Regions from separate parts of the Homo sapiens genome. Here regions 2, 3 and 4 are each linked to region 1. The links are contacts of gene promoters, found by promoter capture Hi-C in blood cells and fetal thymus (Javierre and others, 2016). All regions are on one chromosome and are shown on one strand. The core of a region is centred on a gene start or on the middle of the fragment in contact, and the rest is flanking DNA. Distances in the headings are between cores, read along the strand shown.

Region 1 (2,995 bases), core at 356-2,855:
TTTAGAGGAAAGAGAAAAATACTGAGACCCAGGGAGATGGAAGTAAAATGTGTGAATTAAGTATTGATTTACATGGTTTGTTATTTTCATCTGTCAGTGTACTGCTGTGTCGTCAGATTTCAGAGACAATTACCTCATTAGTTAGATAGCCCTATCATCTATCAAACAAAATACTCCTAGATCTTGTTCAACCATTGTGGAATGTAGGAAATCATATTCCAGATTATTGTGAGAATATAAAACACAAATCTTCAGAGAAGATGAAAGAAAAAAGATGTAGACTAAACTTGCACTAATATTTACATTAGAAACATTATTAGTATGCAATGCAATGAGAATTGAGTAAGGTTAGTAACTACAGATCCTAATTGGAAGTCTGTTGATATATTTAAAAAATATAACGAGTGAGATTTTATTTTGTACAGTACTGCTGTTCTGTATTTCATGTTACCATACTACTGCTTTTGTTAAATGAAGACACCAGGACAGGGATTAGGTGCTTTGTGTAGGGCTAATAGAGATACATAAATTTCTGGCAAAATTCACAACGTTCTTTCTTAGAGACAGATTTAACTGTCTAGTCAGTGTTTGGTGTTGGTGAGCACATAACTATCTAACAAAACTCTCATTAGAAAAAGTTGAAAAACATTCATTTTTCAGAAGCTTTTTGCTATTCAAGGCAAATTGAGCATTATTGAGTTAACTACACCAGGAGAGAAATTAATTTGCTAATTTGTAGAACTACAGAGTATTACCTAGCAAATTCAGTAGTTTAGTTCTCAGGGTTTTTTTTTTTTTCCTTTTGGCATGGAGTCTAGCTCTGTTGCCCAGGCAGGAGTGCAATGGCACAATCTCGGCTCACTGCAACCTCTGCCTCCCAGGTTCAAGCGATTCTCCTGCCTCAGCCTCCCAGGTAGCTTGGATTATAGGGGTCCACCACCACGTCCGGCTAATTTTTGTATTTTTAGTAGAGACGGGGTTTCGCCATGTTGGCCAGGCTGGTCTCGAACTCCTGGCCTCAGGTGATCCACCCGCCTCAGCCTCCCAAAGTGCTGGGATTACAGGCGTGAGCCACTGCGCCTGGCCAGTAGTTTAGTTCTATACTTGAATTGATGGATTGCATTCTATCTTGTAAAATTTGAATAAAAAGTAAATACAGTGTTTACCAGTGAAGTTATTTACTCATTACATATTGATATAATTGATAATCACTACATATTTTATCATATTGAATTCAAGACACTGTGATAACAGATTTTTTTGAAGCAAAATCCTGTTTTAAGTCTTTGGATATAGTACTTTTGCTGACCACTCTTGCATTTGTCTCTCCAACATTATTCCCCACCTCATTCCCATTATGAAACAGTTCACTGTTTGGAGAGCTGGGCCCCACCTCCGGCTCCGAGATCAATCCTGATTGGGTGAAACTAATCTGAGTAACCCCTCCTTCACAGGGGTTTGTCAGATAACCCAGGCTTGAGCCAATCACCGTTCTCTGGGACACAGATTGGACTGAGTTATCTTGTAACTGTCATACTCCAGATTTATGTGGGAGCAGGAACTCCTTTGGACCTTAAGGAGGAAGCACGTGGCTGCTTTTACCTGCTGGCAGTTATCTTGTGTTCTTGAAGGAAGCAGGCCTGAGGAGGACTCCTCATACAGAGAGAAACACCGAGAGATTCACTGAAAAACTGACATGGGATCCTGAGGGGCCACTCTTGAAGACTTATCTCTGCACCTTTCTGGTATGTAAGTCAATACATTCCTTTAATTTAACCCTGTTTCAATTGAATTTATTGTTACTTCTACATGAAAAACAAAAAGTCCTAAATGATATATCTACTCTTTGGCTTCATGTAAGAATTCAAGAGTGTAGCAGCTAATTTCAGTGTAGTTATATTGGGATTATTTAAGAAGTTTATTTAGCATCTCATTACTGAGTCTGCAGTTGTCTTAGTACCTTGTAGATACTTGGGGTTTTGTGTTCTAATAGACTGATTAATTCAACAACTGCTTATTATTAATATAAGCATTCACTCCCTGTAGGGCACTGTGCATACAGCAATGATCAGCATGATTCCAGTGCTCAGAGAGCTCCAAGGATTAGTTGAGACCAGACAAGAATATCAAGGAGGCATGCAGAAGTTACAATGGGAAATCAAAAAGAAGACAAAGGAGGGACACCTAATTCAGAACGATGGGTTTGTTGGATAGGAGAGAAAAGGAGACGAATGGGCAGGTATCATCAAAGATTCCTAAGAAGAAGTTCCTAACTTCTGTTTTTGTGCCATTGACTCTTTGGCAGTGTGGAGAAACCCAGGGACCCATTTTCAGAACAGTGTTTTTAAATGCATAAAATATTTTGGATTAAAAGGAAACTCTGAGTATTGAAATACCTAACAAAATATTTTAAAAGCAAATTTGTAATACAGTAATGTATATGCTTCTTTATTAACTAATTAAAGAACAAGATATAGCAATGAGCATACCTATTAAGATAATTTTAGAGGTACTAATGACTATAAATGAAATTTTGAGTTGTCTGCAGCAACTGTTATGTGAAATGAAAATACCTGTGGTTTTTTTGGTTGTGAAGTCACAGGTACTACTAATGCTAATACTATTGTGGTTTGTGGCATACGTTCATAATAGAATGACATGCTAAATTTTATTTGGAAAGTTAGTTCAACACAATTTCCTGGCTCTGAATTCTATGCCAAGTTAAAAAAAAATTTGTGCTAAGAAGGGATAAAATTTGATGTAATTCTTTTATTTATTTATTTATTTTTTTAGACAGAGTCTCGCTCTATCGCCCAGGCTGGTGTGCAGTGGTGCAATCTCACTGCAACCTTTGCCTCCTGGGTTCAAGCCATTCTCCTGCCTCAGCCTCCCGAGCAGCTGGGACTACAAGCAGACGTCACCATGCCTGGCTGATTCTTTTTGTATTTTTCAGTAGAAATGGGGTTTCACCATGTTGGTCAGGCTGATCTTGAAC
Region 2 (3,122 bases), core at 189-2,688, 170 kb after region 1:
TTTAATGACTTTTGACAAATATATACCATCATGTAACCAGTACTACAATCAAGATATAGAACATTTCCAACATCTTGAAAAGTTTACTTGTGCCCCTTTGCTGTCAATCCTGCTATTGGCTCCACATAACTACGGATCTGCTTTTTGTCAATGTAGATTAATTTTAGTTCTTTTAAAATTGCATGTAAATGAAATAATACATTTGCAATTTTTTTTTTCGCTTAGGGCTTCTTTTGTTTAGAATCATGTTTTTGAGGTTCATCCATGTTGTTTACATCAGTTGTTCTTTTTTTTTCTTTCTTGAGACAGTGTCTCCCTCTGTTGCCCAGGCTAGCATGCAGTGGCACAGTCATAGCTCACTGCAACTTCAAACTTCTGGTCTCAAGTGATCCTTCTGCTTCAGTTTCCCAAGTATCTGGGACTCATGGTGTATGCCACCATGCCTGGCTAATTTTTTTGTTTTTAATAGAGACGAAGTCTTGCTCTTTTTCCCAGGTTGGTCTCAAACTTCTGGGCTCAAATGATCCTCCTGCTATGGTCTCCCAAAGTGCTGCAATTATGGGCATGAGCCACCACGCCCAGCCAGCAGTTTTTTAAATTGCTGAATAATAGTCCATTTGTGTATACAATTCAATTTATTTATCCATTAGTCTGTTGATGGACATTTGAGTGGTTTCCAGTTTTTGGCTGTTATGAATAAAATTGCTATAAGCTTTCTTGTATAGTCTTTTTTTTTTTTCTTAGAAAGAAACATTTCGTAGGTCTTACAAATGGAAGGTGTGTCTGTGTCTTGGACAGTGGTGAGATAAGATGATGGATCTCTGTGCCTCATGTACAAGTCTTTGTGTAGACATACCATTTCTGTTGAATCCATACCTGACAATGGAATTGCTGTATTGTATAGTAGTAAGTATAGGTCCTGGCGTGGTGGCTCACGCCTGTACTCCCAGCACTTTGGGAGGCCGAGGCAGGTGGATCACTTGAGGCCAGGAGTTCGAGACCAGCCTGGCCAACATGGCGAAACCCCGCCTCTACTAAAAATACAAAAATTAGCCAGGCATGGTGGCACATGCCTGTAAGTCCAGCTGCTGCTCGGGAGGCTGAGGCAGAGAATCCCTTGAACCCGGGAGGCGGAGGTTGCAGTGAGCCAGGACTGCGCCACTGCTCTCCAGCTTGGGTGAGAAAGTGAGACCCTGTCTCAAAAAAACCCAAAAAGTATTTATTTAACATTATAAGAATTCACCAAACTGTTTCCCACTAGCAACATATGAGAGATTCAGTTCCTCCACCTCATTACCAGCACTTTGTATTCAGTCTTTTAAATATTAACTATTCTTGTGGCTGTGTTGGCATATTTTTTTGTGGTTTTAATTTGCATGTCCTTTAAAACTAATGATGTTTAGCATCTTTTCTACTGCCTTTTAGCCATTTATATATCTTCTGTTAAGTGTTTGTTCCAACTTTTGTCTTTTTTTTTTTTTAAATGGGTTTTTATTCTTGGGTAACGACTTTGTATATATTTGAGATACAATTCCGTCTCAGATATCTATATCAGTATCTGTCTAATATTTTCTCCCAGTTTAGCTTATTTTATTAATGGTAGCTTTAGAAACATGTAAGTTATAAATTTTTATGAAATCTAGTTTATCAATTGTTTTTCTTTTATGATGAACTTTTTCTGTCCCAAGACATTTTTTGCCCATCTGAAGGCTGTGAAAATTTTTTCCTCTGTTTCTTTTAGAATTTTTTAGTTTCATCATTTACATATAAGTCCGTGGTCCATTTGGAGTTAATTTTTGAGTGTGTCACAAGGTAAAGGTTGAGGTTCATTTTTATAGTTTATTTTATAGTTATTCCAGTACCATTTGTTGAAAACATGATTCCTTTTTTATTAAATTATATTGGCACCTTTGTTGAAAATCAATTTTCAATATTTTATTGTATGGAATTTTTTCTGAACTCTTTTTCCATTGACCTATGTGTTTATCCTTATGCTAATACTACACTATCTTGACAAATGTAGCTTCATGGTCAGACTTGGAATCAAATACTATAAAGCCTCCTGTTTTGTTCTTTTATTTCAAAATTGTTTGACCTAATTTAGTTCTTTTGCATTTCAATACACATTTTAGAATTGGCTTGTTAATTTCTACAGAAAAGCTTTCTGGGATTTTTATTAGGATTGTGCTGAATAAAGCCTCCTGTTTTGTTCTTTTATTTCAAAATTTTTTGACCTAATTTAGTTCTTTTGCATTTCAATACACATTTTAGAATTGGCTTGTTAATTTCTACAGAAAAGCTTTCTGGGATTTTTATTAGGATTGTGCTGAATCTATAAGTCACTTGGGGAGAAGCGACATCTTTGTAATATGGAGTCTTCCAAGCTGTCTTATGTTACATTTCTTTATTATCTAGACCTTCAAGTTTTCACAGCAATGTTTTGTATTTTCATATACAGATCTTGTACATATTTTGTACATTTAATACTATTTCATGGTTTCGGATGTCTTGTATTGTAAATCTTTTAACATTTAAACATTTTTTTATTTGATTGCTAATACATAGAAACATAGTTGATTTTTCTATATTGAGCTTGAATTTTGTGACTGTTCTAAACTCATTGATTGCATATAATTTTTTTGTAGATTCCTTAGCACTTTGTACATAGATGATCATAGTGTCTGTTAATTGGGACAGTTTTACTTCTTGTCCAATCTGAATGCCTTTTGTTTCTTTTATTTATTTCTTTTTCTTCTTTTTGTCTTACTGCATTGGTCAAGACCTCTATTAAAATATTAAAGTAGTGAGAATGGGCATCCTTGCCTTGTATACTCTTTTAAAGAGAAAGCACTGCGTCTTCCACCATTAAGTATGGTGTTAGTTTTAGGTTTTTCACAGATGCCCTTTGTAAGGTTGAAGGAGTTCCCTTTGATTCCTAGTTTTCTGAGTTTTTATTGTTGAATTTTGTCAGATGCTTTTTTTGTATCTCAACAATCACATAGTATTTCTCATTTTTCTGTTAATATGGTAGCTTTTATTGATTAATTTTCAAATGTTAAACCAGCCTTGCAGTCCTAAGATAACTCGCACTGGATCATGATATGTTATCCTTTTTATATAGA
Region 3 (2,909 bases), core at 356-2,855, 190 kb after region 1:
GCCCAAATCCGGTTTTTGCTACTCCCTTCTCCCCTGTAAAGCCCCACCAGTGTCTATATTTCTACTCTCATAGCAACATGACTTGTTTAGCATTTGTCTTATTATATATGCTTTTTATATCATATTCATTTGTTAATATGTAACTTATATACAATAAAATTTACCAATCAAGCATACAACTTGATGATTTTTGGCAAAGGTATATATTTGTGTAACCGTAATCACAGCCATGTAGAACATTTCTATCTCCCTAAAAAGTTTCCTCATACCTTTTGCAGTCAATTCCCTTTCCATACCCCAACCCCTGGCAACCACTAATGTGCTATGTTACTATAGTTTTGTCCTTTTTAGAATGTCACATAAATGGAATTACATAGAATGTAGTTTTTGTGTCTGGCTTCTTTCATGTAACATAAAGTTTTTGTGATTCATGTGGTTGTATGTATCAGTAGTTTTATTTTTATTGCTGAGTGTTATTCTGTTGTACAGAGATAGATATACCGCAGTTCATGTGTCTTTTCAGTAGTTAGTTGATGGACATTTGAGTTGTTTTTGATTTTTTGCTATTGTAAACATCTGTGTGCAAGTTTCTGTGTGGACATTATTTTCATTTCTCCTGAGTAAACGTGTAGCAGTGTGTTTGCTTAGTTGTATAGTGACCATATGTTTAAAAGACTCCACTTTCGAAAGTGACTGTACTATTTTATATTCCCACCAGCATTGTAAGATAATACTTATTATATTTTAGTTAGCTGTATGTGTTTTTTTCCTTTGTTTAACTGAGGACTTGAGAACAAGAATCTTGATATCGCTATACCAGTGCCCTATATTTTGTAGATGCTTAATAGATTTTATTGATATTGAATTTTTATGTATGAATGGTTTTTAAAATGTGCCAGAGATGAAGATGACTTTCTTTATTGAATGGAAACATGAATTGGACATTCAAAAATTATCTTTTTCTATTTGTCATCTTTTTTCAATTAGAATTTTGTTTCCTTGCTCTAAGTGCAAAATCAAAACATTTGGTATCAGTGAGGATGTCTATCTTGAATCACTGATTCATTCAAATTTATGTTTAACATTTACTTTTTTAGCAAATGTTATAATTTAACAAATGTTTTATAGCTCACTTTTTTAAAATTAATCTCAGCATGACAATTTTGAAAACAAATCTGATTTTTCCTTTATATGTTTAGCATTTATCTTGAAAGGAAATGTTTTAGGTCTGCATTACTTGGCCTTTCTTTGAGACTATTCTGTGATATGTTGTTTGCCATATGATGTTTTATAGTTAACTATGGTTGGAGTATACTTATATTTGATGCTTTCCCTGAAATCAATTTAATCTTTTATAGTCTTCCCTATTCATTGGGGAACCTTCATTTGAAATTTTTGGCATTAGAAGGAAATCCTTTGAGAACAATTCGAAGAGAAATTATAAGTGTAAGTATATTTGGAATTCAGCTCTTTGTTAAATTGAAATTCAGACATATATGTTGATCTGTAAAACTGCAAAGCATGTCTTGGTGAATGTCTTTGTCTCCACCCTTCTAGAAAGGAACACAAGAAGTCCTAAAATATCTACGAAGCAAGATCAAAGGTACTTTAAAATGTTCTCTTATATTTTGAAGGATTCATAAAAAGTGGTGAAGAATTAATAGTACATAAATTTAAATGTCTTTTGGGTATACATATTTGGAAGTAATAGATCCTGGCATGTGTGGCTCTAATTCTAAATCCATATAGTCTGTAAGTATGCTGAGGTTATAAAAATATCTTTAAACTCACAATAATAATGTACTATCTGTAATCCCTTTGAATTGTGTTAAGTCTGCCAATTAGGAAATTTAACAAAAAAGATTCAGTAAGCACTTAGTACTTCAACTTTGAAAAAGGAGTAAAACTTGACTTTCAGGATATATGGGTTCTATTGACTAGAAAGTATATTGACAAGTATTTCATTATCTATTTTTCGTGCACAGCTTTGCTAAACTCTGACAAAATTTAAGACAAAACATACTTTTCAGGGTATGTTAATTTAGCAAGAACATGTACCAAAAGTGAAAATAATACAATAAACTTAATTTTTAATAATTCACTAAACATGTCATATACCCAATTTTTGTTTCATGTCTATCATTATAGAATAAACTAAAACATTTTGAAAAAAAAAAGTAGTTGTACGAGTGCTATGCTAAGAAACAAACCACTCCAAAACATAATGGCTAAATGCAGTAGCTGTTAATTTACCTCACAACTCTGTTGGTTATGCATAGCTTAGCTTAGCACTATGTTGCCAGTCAACATATATTAAATGAGTAAGATAATTGTGTAGTTTAGCTATTTTTTCTACTTTATCCTTCAAGTGAATTATTAAAATAATTTTCTAAGACTCTTATTTTCTACCAAGGAAAGTGTTTCCTTCTCCAAATATGCTTTCTCTTCCAGAACAAATTGATTATTCTGTCATGAATCAGTTAGAGGTCATGTCAGACTGATCAAAATTTTATGAACAGAAAGCCAAGATGAACTTAGTGGAAGTTACAGTTATATGCAAACATTTCTGCTAGACAGCTTCTATCCAAAGATGGGAGAGTGAATCCATGCATATAATTTTATTCTTTCCAGAAACCCCACAAAAAGAAAATTGGTAATGGAAATGTTTTAAAGGTGTACTTCCATAAAGATAGGGAGAATGGGGGAAAAATAAAATAATAAACATGTGGACATTGGAAAGTGAGTTGTTTAGTCAGTTTGGGCTACTATAATAAAATATCTTAGACTGTAATTTATAAATAACAGAAATTTATTGCTCATGGTTCTAGAGAACTGTGATCAAAGCACCAGCAGATTTGGTGTCTGGTAAGGACCTGTTTCTCATAGATGGCACCTTCTCCATGCTTTCA
Region 4 (2,865 bases), core at 189-2,688, 140 kb before region 1:
CCATCTTATTTCACATATAATTCAAGTCTCATGAGTTAATTTATCAATTTAATTCAACAGGAAATATCGAACTCACAATTTTCACATGTGGCATTAAATCTCAAAGTAACTTTAGAGTTAACATGTCTATTCAGTAAGCTAAAACAATATTGTGTCATATATTATGCTATTACCTTAAGTTTTAAAAATGAGTAAAAACACATGAAGGGGAAATTATAGTATTTATTATACCACGTAGGCTGTGCTAGACACATTGATTTCTTTGCCCAAAGTATCCTGCTTTCATAAGAAATGATCTCTCATCCACATGGTTACTACAGGAGCAGCCATTATCAGAGCTGCCTCATATTATCTTACAAAAGTTGATTGTTAGCACCTCTTCCAACTCCACATTCAGTGATATCATACTGGTCTCTTGAAATCAGCCATCGTGAGAATATTTACACCTCAAATTAGCAAATTGGTGCACCTCCTCTCTCCTCACCCCAAGAGCCAACTGTTACACATTGTCACCACATCACTGCATTAACATGCTATGACTGTCCCTTAGGTTATAATTACTTACACAGAGATAGACGCCGGACTCCTGCTGAACCAAGCAGACCTTTTCATGTAATTTGTGAAACTGGAGCTGAGAATAAAAGCCAATTTCTCTCCAGTGGCAGACACAGTAATAAGTAAATTTTAGGAGATGTTGGAGAGGAAAAGGGGGATTTTTTTTTTGTCTTTAGATCAGAGAACTAGAAACAAAAAGAGAACAAAATAAATATACAGAGGTGAGCAGAGATGAGAGATGATGATATAACTTTGGGATATTTAAGTCCCTTCTATTTATTCCAGAGTAGCACCTGCATTTCTATCCATGGGTCCCACTAGACACTTCATTTTCATTAGGACAAATTCCTCTGTGCTAATCAAATTTAATTACAATTTCAGAACTGTTATCTGAAAGATTCCTAACTAATATTTGAGTCCTCAAATATATACTACTTTAATCTGAACATCTCTCAAAGCCTTTCATATAGTGGTAGCTGAAAAAGTTTTCTCTTTGCTTTGGCAGCAGTGGTGGCTATCGAATGGGAATTTGATTGCAGTGTTGTTTCTGTGAATCAGATGGAACTAATCCTACCTCTGCAATTTGATCTCTTATCATCTTTTTACAAAATAACACATTAATTTTCTCTTACTTAAAAATGTTCTTTTATCAAAAGTATTTTTAATTTTCTAAAATGTAAATAATGTCTTTTCTATGCTTGAAGTGTTACTCTTTCGTATCATAAACACACCATCTGGATTACTAAAAGGAGGGATAGTTTTTATAGCCCTTTTGCTCAGCTCAAAACTGCTGTTTACATAAAGTCATACTTACCCAAAGCCAAGACTATAGGGTACAGTTGTGCAGGTTGTGCCCTGTACAAAGGCATCTAGCCCTTGGTGTGAGTAAAGGCCAGCCATGGGGAAAGGTGCTCAAGGTCTCCAACTGTGGCAGGGGCCTAGCCACCTGCCTGATACTACCCAAGAGTGAAATTGCTCTCCTATGAATTCTTGTGACTCATTTACCATCCTTTATAGCACGTTCATTTTGCTAACTTTCTTATCTCCTTTATTACATAAAAAAATATTTTGAGGTGGGAAACTGCATTATACTATCCTTTCAAGTGCCCCAAATGAAAACATTTGATTTGGCCAATGAACACCTGACAAATGAGATAATGTGTTTATAAGTGAGACTTTACATGCCAAAGTAGCACAAATCTTAAAGTTTCTTATTTTATTTAATGTGTAAACTTCACTTTCACTACAACTGAAGAGCTCTATATTACAGCAATATCTATGAGCCAAAACTCTGAGCTAAATAGGCCATAAAAATGGTATAAGGAAATATCCAGCTTACAAAAGAGTAACACAGACACAACTTAACCCCAAACTGAGACCAAAATATAATTATTTATTTATTGAAACATGAAGTAATTTGCCTCTTGCATATATAAGTGAGCCAGATAAGGGAAATGAGCATTCTAATCAAACAGCAATGCAAGATTAGAGCAAATCAAAAGAGAGCAATCATTTGTGAATGGAGGTAAATTAATTCCATTAAGTATGCCACAGAAATCTAGCATTAAAAAATTCAAAAATTCTAGCTTTGTGAACTTGAAAGATATTTAGAATCATTGTTCTAAGTGTCATGAAGCAGAAGCAGGCTCCAATTCATGGCCTACATTAAAACCAGGATGTGTTGATTTAACTCCAAAGATTAGACTACTGGGAGCCATATAATCAATAACCTCCAGGGATCATATTTCAATATCTCTGCCAATTTAATTATCGTACTCAGGTGCCAGCTTTCTTGTTTTATATATATATAAATTTCTGTGACACAGCCCTCGGGAGATCCTGAGAACATGTGCTCCTATATTCCACAGTTTAGAGCCAAGAATTAGCTTGAATGCAGGTGCACAGAGTTAAATTACCTAGTTTGTATCATTAGAGTAGTTGAGAATCAAAGTCCCTAAAGTTATACCATATCAATTTCATTAAACAGTTGACTCTTCAACAACACAGATTTGGACTGTGTATGTCCACTTATACTGAGATTTTTCAACCAAACTTAGATTGAAAATCCAGTATTAAAGAAATGCAAAAGCTACCTATATGGAGGGCCAACTGTTTGTATATACTCAGGTTCTGCAGGACCCACTGTGGGGCTTGAGTATGCAAGGATTTTGGTATGGATGGGGGCCTGGAACAAATCCCCTGCATATATCAAGGGACAACTGTACTTAAAAGCAAATAAACATAAAAAACAAATAATTTTCCAAGTACAAATAAAAATTTTCCTGCAGGGGTCACAGCTGGGCCCTAAAC

Evidence for each region. Contacts are between HindIII fragments. The CHiCAGO score rates a contact against its expected background, and 5 or more counts as called.
Region 2: a contact is called between a fragment that was not itself captured here and the fragment with the promoter of LINC03102 in region 1, in 1 of 17 cell types (activated CD4 T cells). The highest score is 5.8, in activated CD4 T cells.
Region 3: a fragment that was not itself captured here is called in contact with the fragment with the promoter of LINC03102 in region 1 in 1 of 17 cell types (activated CD4 T cells); the score reaches 5.7 in activated CD4 T cells.
Region 4: a contact is called between a fragment that was not itself captured here and the fragment with the promoter of LINC03102 in region 1, in 1 of 17 cell types (naive CD8 T cells). The highest score is 5.4, in naive CD8 T cells.

What each region holds. Positions count from the first base shown.
Region 1 is chr1:70,359,047-70,362,041 of GRCh38, reverse strand. It overlaps LINC03102 (long intergenic non-protein coding RNA 3102), which reads left to right and starts at 1,605. Exons shown (of 2, transcript NR_183713.1): 1 at 1,605-1,745; 2 at 2,047-2,483. The region is part of intron 1 of ANKRD13C-DT (ANKRD13C divergent transcript); the gene reads right to left. RefSeq lists a silencer at 1,480-1,673 and an enhancer at 2,910-2,969. The HindIII fragment of the contact is 2,416 bases long and covers 666-2,995 here.
Region 2 is chr1:70,193,730-70,196,851 of GRCh38, reverse strand. All of the region lies in intron 1 of LRRC40 (leucine rich repeat containing 40), which reads left to right. Among named protein-coding and RNA genes, the nearest start is that of LRRC40, 10 kb to the left of the region's middle. The HindIII fragment of the contact is 1,448 bases long and covers 715-2,162 here.
Region 3 is chr1:70,172,159-70,175,067 of GRCh38, reverse strand. It overlaps LRRC40 (leucine rich repeat containing 40), which reads left to right. Exons shown (of 15, transcript NM_017768.5): 8 at 1,359-1,446; 9 at 1,558-1,603. Among named protein-coding and RNA genes, the nearest start is that of LRRC40, 32 kb to the left of the region's middle. The HindIII fragment of the contact is 4,336 bases long and covers 1-2,909 here.
Region 4 is chr1:70,494,969-70,497,833 of GRCh38, reverse strand. No RefSeq gene overlaps it. Among named protein-coding and RNA genes, the nearest start is that of CTH, 85 kb to the right of the region's middle. The HindIII fragment of the contact is 6,948 bases long and covers 1-2,865 here.